Linked DNA regions of Homo sapiens: region 2 is linked to region 1. Evidence: promoter capture Hi-C in human tissues and cell types (Jung and others, 2019). All regions are on one chromosome and are shown on one strand. Each heading gives the region's core, a stretch centred on a gene start or on the middle of the fragment in contact. The rest is flanking DNA. Distances are from core to core; before and after follow the strand shown.

Region 1 (3,642 bases), core at 751-3,250:
AAACTTCTTATCAATTCCCCAGCCTCAGATATTTATTTAGAGCAATGTAAAAAGGGACTAATACATGCTTTTACCACTTCAGATCCCTAATCTTACTTGCTAGTGAAAAGAGTACAGGTTTTGATTTCACAGGGACCTGGGTTCCAGTCCCAGCTGTGACATTTATGTGACCTTTAGCAAGTTATACAGCTGCAACACCCACCAGGATGAGCCGGATATGGGGCGGGGTTGGAGGGTGTTGGTTGGGGAGAGGCAACTGAGGTCAGTGTCTGGGTGGGACTGGATTGGGAATAAAGCTCCCGGTCTGAGGAAGCAAACATGCCACACTCTTCAAATCCAGAAAGCAATTTAGGGGGAAGAAACCCCCACTCACCTGGACCATGGTTGGCAGGTGGCTGACAGCCATTCTTTCTTCTCCGATGAGCCCTCTTAGGGACAGGCAAAGTGCTATGGAGGCAGGTGTGGAGCTTCACACCTGCAGGACTCCTCAGGCTAGAAGGGTCCACACACCTGCTATTAGGAGAGAACTGGGTCAAAAGCTCTCATACAGCAGTCCAGAGCGAGGCAGTGAGCATTCACATCCTGGGAGGCCTCCAGTACCCCAAGCAGTGAGTGTTTTGGTTCCTGTTTGCTCCCCATTCTCTCTCCTCCTTCTGAGGGTACTATACATTGACTTTTCCCTGCAGAAAGCCTGCTCCAGGTCCAGTTCTCATGCCTTCCACCCACCCTCTGGTCTTTCCCTTCAGCCTCACTGAGCGATCTCAAGAGAATTCTTTTTTTGTTTGTTTGTTTGAGACAGAGTCTCGCTCTGTCACCTAGGCTGGAGTGCAGTGGCACGATCTTGGCTCACTGCAACCTCCGCCTTCCGGGTTCAAGCGATTCTCCCGCCCCAGTCTCCGGAGTAGCTGGGATTACACGCACCCGCCACCACGCCCGGCTAATTTTTTATATTTTTAGTAGAGACCGGGATTTCACCATGTTGGTCGGACTGGTCTCGAACTCCGGACCTCAGGTGATCGGCTCGCCTCGGCCTCCCAAAGTACTGGGATTACAGGCGTGAGCCGCCGCACTCGGCCGAGAATTATCTCTTTAACAAGTTATTCAGCTCCAGAACCCACCAGGATGTACCCGAAAAGGTGGGAGCGCTGGGGAGAGGCAACGGAGGGCAGTGTCTGGGTTCGACTGGATTGGAAGACCGCTCCGCTCTCCCTCTGCGGCTTTGGAACAGCTGCCTTATCTGGCAGTGACAGGAGAAGAGGAAAAGGAGGGTGGTCTTCTTCCTCCTCAGAAAGGAGGCTAAGAAGGCTCTTCACTGTCGAAGCCTCTCAGGCAAACCCTTCTCTGGCCTCAGTGTTCTCACTCTCTGGGGCCCAGTCTGGGTGGCCTGGAGTCACGGGTGGGCAGAAGCGGCGTTTGTGTGAGCTGGGCGGGAGGGGAGAGGGAAGGGTTAGGAACCCTAATCACACACAGCCCCGTCCCGCCCCTGCCGCTTCGCCAGGTCCCTCGGGGGCTGTGGCAGGGGCTGCGCAGCGGCTGCCTCCGGCCTTGGCGAGTTCCTGGCGCAGGACTCGGAACCACGCCAGGCGTGTATCTATCACCTGAGAGGAAACCCTGGGCTTCTCGGAGTCCGCTCCAAGACACATGCCAGAGGCCCTGGCTCCATCTCCTCCACAGGCACTCACAGACTCGACCCTCAGCCCAGGATGACCACCCCTGGCCGTCCTCCCTCTCTGGGATCAAATCTCAGACATACATTCCGGGAAGTTTGGGGCATTCGATCAGCGTCCTCCAGAATGGACCACAACCCGCACCTCCTCGGCTTTGCCTCCGCCCTTCTCCCCAGACGACCTCACGACCGCTCCCGCTCTCCCTCTGCGGCTTTGACCACCGTGCCTGGTCAGCCCCGTGTCGCTCTTCGAGGAGCCTCTGCCGGCGGCGAGAGATCGCAAGCGCCACATCGCAGTCAGAACACAATGAGCTGGAGTCTGCAGCCGGGAGCCGAACTGCGCTTGCGCGTTGCCCTGGGAACCCTTGGGCCGAATTCCCACAAGTCTCAGGGCTGCTGCAGTTCCGCCGGCCAGACTCCACTTCCCAGAGGGACAATCGGCGGAGACAGTGCTGCCTTGCGCCTGCGGGAACAGGGCCCGGCCCCGGCGCTTTAGGCGCGGAAACTACCTTTCCCAGAGACCCCTCCACGCCGACCTCAGCGCGCTCATTGCAACTTACAGAATCGGTTCCGTTCCGTTCGCTTTAGAACCAGGTCTCTGCCTTGCACTAAGGCGCAGGAAGATGCAGATCAGCGAAAAGCTGAAGATGGGGCAAGGGAGGTTAGTCCAGGGGAGCGACGCCCGATCGCTGACGAGAGAGGATCGGGAGGGTCCGGAAGACGGAGTGGGAGGCGACAGGGCGCGTTCCTGACTGGGACCGCGCCGAAAAGGCCTGGAAGGCAACAGAATTGCCCCTTGGCCTGGCAAGCGCCCGACACTTCCAGCCTGGCACTGCGGGCGGGCCAGCGTGTGCTGGGGTGGCGACGCCACAGCCACTAACGCGTGTGCGGTGCGGGAGGACAAGGATGTCGGGCAGGGATGTCCTGCTTGGCACCTCAGGACAGAGCCCATGGTGGCTGGCGGCCCCTGGAATGTTCGGGACGCAGAACACTTCGTGCTTGGGAACTTCTCAGAGGTGGGGACGAGGGAGAGGAAGGCGCCTGGATGCCAGGAAGTCTCCATCTTGGACAGCTGGGTGGTATTTAAGAAGGTGGTATTTATTTTTGTCGACCATATTTTGCAGAGACTGGCAAGGATGAGATGATGCCTAAGAATATCCAACTGGAGATACTTAGTTGCTTTTGAATAGGTAATTTGCATGGAGCTCAGGAAGGAAAGATGAGAGGGTTTTAACTTTGTTGGTCGTTAAAAAAAATCAAGAATGTGACCTGTTTGTCACATACGGAATTGTTGGCCACGTTTTAGGAAGCAGTGTCAGTGACTACAGCATTCTGTTTGGAGTTTTATTGAAGATTTCATTCCATAGACACTTTGGAGCACTTATGTGTCAAGTGCTTGACAAGGCCAGGGTCAGCCGCTGTGCAGCCCCTGTAGCAGTTCCCAGGGACCCGGCAAAGCACCAGAGGGGGAGGATGTTGTGTGAGTATCGCTGGTAACCCTTCTCTCTCGCCTCCCTCGTGACTCCAGGTCACTCAAACTGGGCTCCAGAGAGTAAGAACCCCGAGTCCAGGGGCTGGAGAAATAGCTGTGAAAACCCTGCACTCATGGAGTTTTAATTGTACTAGAGGAGGGGTCAGACAAGTAGAAAGTATTTATCTGGTAGTGATAACACTACTGTTAGGGGTTAGGGTGTGATGGGGCGGGGAATTATTTCAAGCAGCAGTTTTGGAAGTTCTCTTTGAGGAGGTAACACCTGAGCAGAGATTTGAATACAGTGAGGGAAGAAACGATGTGACTGTATGGGTAAAGTGCCTTCTAAAGGGAGGGAACAGAAATGCTGACCAGAGAGAAGTGTGCTTGGTGAACTCCAGGCTTGGCAAGGTCAGTATGACTGGCGAGGGCCTACTGAACAAGGAAGACTGCGAGATGCTGTTGCAGGAGTAACTACAGGCCTTGAAGGAAGGAAATTTGGATT
Region 2 (3,642 bases), core at 310-2,809, 160 kb before region 1:
CTGTAAGCTTCTTAGAGATGCACTTTATTAGACTGAGGAAGGTGCCTTCTATTCCTAATTTATTGAGAGTTTTTTTTTTATCATGAATGGGTATTGGATTTTATTGAATATCTTTTTTGTATCTAATGAGATAATCACATAAATTTTGTCCTTTCTCCTATTAATATTGTCTATTATATTAATTGATTTTCAAATGTTAAATCAACCTTGCATTCCACAGATACATCCCACTTGGTCATGGTATATAATTCTTTTTCTCTGTTCCTGAAGTTGTTTCGCTAATCTTTTGTTAAGGGCATTTGTACCTCTATTCTGTAGTTTTCTCATGATGTCTTTGGCTTTGGTTTCAGGGTAATACTGGCCTCATAGAATAAATTGGGAAGTGGTTCTTCCTATTCCTTCTACTGGAAGAGTTTGTGAAGAATTGATATTACCTCTGTCTTAAATGTTTGATAGACCACCAGTGAACACCTCTGGCCCAGGCTTTTCTTTGTGGCCAGATTTTATATTATGAATTCAGTTTTTTGTGGGTTTTTTTTTGCTTATTATAAGTCTATTAAGATTTTATATTTCTTCTTCTTGAATCACTTTTGGTAGTTTGTGTCTTTCTAGAAATTTCTGTTTCATTTGAGTTATCTGATTTGTTGCCATACAATTATTCCTGGTATTCCCTTATAATCCTTTCAACTGTTGTAGGGTCAGTAATGACATCCCCATATTCACTCGTTATTTATGCATTTGTGTTTTTTTACCTTTTTTCTTTTTTTTTTTTTTTTGAGATGGAGTCTCGCTCTGTCGCCCAGGCCGGACTGCGGACTGCAGTGGCGCAATCTCGGCTCACTGCAAGCTCTGCTTCCCGGGTTCACGCCATTCTCCTGCCTCAGCCTCCCGAGTAGCTGGGACTACAGGCGCCTGCCACCGCGCCCGGCTAATTTTTTGTATTTTTAGTAGAGACGGGGTTTCACCTTGTTAGCCAGGATGGTCTCGATCTCCTGACCTCGTGATCCACCCGCCTCGGCCTCCCAAAGTGCTGGGATTACAGGCGTGAGCCACCGCGCCCGGCCTTTACCTTTTTTCTTACGTTAGCTAAAGGTTTTTCAATCTTGCTGGTCTTTTCAAAGAAGCAACTTTTTGTTTCACTGATTTTTCTCTCCTGTTTTTCTATTTTCTACTGCACTGATTTTCATTTGAATCCTTAATATATTCTTCTTCTTGCTTTGGGTTAGTTTGCTCTTCTACTCGTGGATTAAAAATTGTTTTTAATTTTCAAAATACTTGGGTATGTCCCAATTTTATTTATTTATTTATTTTTTTGACAGAGTCTCACTCTGTTGCCCAGGTTGGAGTGCAGTGGTGCAATCTCGACTCATTGCAACGTCTGCCTCCCAAGTTCAAGCGATTCTCCTGCCTTAGCCTCCCAAGTAGCTGGGATTGCAGGTGTGTGCCACCACACCCAGCTAATTTTTATATTTTTAGAGATGGCGTTTCACCATGTTGGCCAGGCTGGTCTCGAATGCCTGACCTCAAGTAAGTCACCTGCCTCAGCCTCCCAAAGTGCTGGGATTACAGGCGTGAGCCACTGTGCCTGGGCCCGTTTTATTCCTGTGTTTGATTTACTATCATTGTGGCCAGAAAAACATACTTTGTGTTATTTCAATCCTTTTAAATGTATTGAGACTTTGTAAATGGTCTGGTATGTGGTTTGTATGTGTTGAAAATAATGCGTAGTCTGCTGTTGTTGGCTAAAGTGCTCTGGGGGTGTCAGTTAGGTCAAGTTGGTTCATATGATTGTTTAAGTTTTCTAGTGGCTATGGCTCGCCTCTCTGAATTCCAATCCCCTCCTCACCTTTCAGCCATTTTTTTTTTCTTGCTCAGCCGTTTGCCTTTTTAGCTGTTTTCAGCAGGATATTTGGCCTAAATTATCAAATCAGAAATTTCTGGAACCTATATTTCAACTTTTAATATAAAATTGTCTATTTCTAACAATTGGAATTAGACTAAGTGCCATTTCCAATAATGTGTGACAAACCCGTAACACAAAGTTTTAGTGGTGAAAGAGAATAGGCATTTAAATTCCTAGCAAAGTTCCCAAATGTGGCAGTTTCTTCCTTATTTCTAAAGCAATTTAAACTACAGTGTTTCTAATATATATCACCATAATTCTGTATATACAGGGCTTTTGATTTTCAGGCAAAAAAAAATTACTGGATAGACAAGGGTCATGAAATAAATATTATAAAGATATCAAAGTTCAATTAACCTGGTTAATATATCAAAAGTTGTCATAACCTCAAGGAGAAATTGACAAAGCCTCCATCCTAGGGAAAAAGTTTAACATGTCTCTCAGTAATTGATAGCTCAGCAGAAAAAATAATAATATATAATTTGAATAATACAACAAACAAGCTTGATCTAAGGAAAACACATATATCTCTGAGCCTCCAACAATTGAACAACTCACATTCTTTTCAAACACATACAAAATATTTATGACAACTGACAACATATTGGACAATTAAAGAATAATAATAAATTGAAATGATTTTTTACTTAATGTAACTTAACTACAAAATTAAATTAGAAATCAATATTTTAAAATTTAGCTAAAATATATTTTTGAAATTTAAAAATCATACCTCTAAATAAATCACAGGTCAAAAAAACATTGAAAATTAGAAAATTCTGGTCACCAAGATGGCAGAATAGAAGGTAACCTGCTCACATCTCCCCACAACAACAAGAATTCTGCGCCTATCCAGAATCAAAAGTCTCTCTGCCTCAGGATTCAGATAGGAGTTTGTGAAATATTGGTGGAGCCCAAGATCTTGGAGGATTATTTTGAGAGTGCAGACTAACACCAGTTGGCTGATCCACCAATCTTGTTCCTGGGTTCAAGCCCAGAAATGGCCCAGTCCCCCAAGGGGCTTTGGCTACCGTACTGTTTGACTTTGAACCTGCAACCAAAACCATCTGTTAAAGGATCCAGAAGGAATTGTGTACCCTAGTGCCTTGGTGGAAAGGCATCTGCCTCGTCACCTCCATCTTAGAAGTAAACCTCAAAGTTGCCTTGTGGCTCAGCTCCAGTCCCCATCACTCCCATGTAGGTCCTAGCTCAGAGTTGCTCACACAAGAACCCAGAGGGAGACTCACTCATACCTCAATCCCAGGAGTCTGAGCCTCCCTGACAGGCTTGCCAATCTTATCCCACAACAGATCCTGAGGGGAACCAGTCTCAGCTCCAGCCCCTCCCACTGCAATCAGAGAACTATCTCATCTGTTCCAAGATCTGCTGGGAGATGCTCACCTATCTGGGCCAACATAATGGGCTCTCCAGCCTTTGTCCCACAGCAGATTCCAAGGGGACCCAGTCTCAACTCCAGCTCCTCTTGCTGCAGTAAGGAACCCATTCCACCTATGCAAAGACCTGCTAGGAGTCACACCCATCTGAGCCTACGGTACAGTCTTCTAGACTCAGATCTGCGAGGAGGCACACCCATCTGAGCCTACAGTACAGTCTTCTAGACCCAGGTCCCTGGCTAGCATTCCCACACAGCCCCAGTATATCCATTCCTTGGGTCTTCCCCAGGTCCATCTGGGACTCAAAACCTCAAAGTCCTCATGAGACTCACAGCAAGCCTGGGC

Evidence for each region. Contacts are between HindIII fragments. The study calls those that stand out against the background at their distance.
Region 2: a contact is called between a fragment that was not itself captured here and the fragment with the promoter of ZNF454 in region 1, in 1 of the 25 tissues and cell types used here (small bowel).

The regions. Positions count from the first base shown.
Region 1 is chr5:178,939,556-178,943,197 of GRCh38, reverse strand. It overlaps ZNF454 (zinc finger protein 454), which reads right to left and starts at 2,000. Exons shown (of 5, transcript NM_001178089.3): 1 at 1,754-2,000; 2 at 374-513. The coding sequence starts at 406. It overlaps ZNF454-DT (ZNF454 divergent transcript), which reads left to right and starts at 2,183. Exons shown (of 1, transcript NR_186409.1): 1 at 2,183-3,642. The HindIII fragment of the contact is 17,658 bases long and covers 1-3,642 here.
Region 2 is chr5:179,096,243-179,099,884 of GRCh38, reverse strand. No RefSeq gene overlaps it. Among named protein-coding and RNA genes, the nearest start is that of ZNF354C, 38 kb to the right of the region's middle. The HindIII fragment of the contact is 4,105 bases long and covers 1-3,611 here.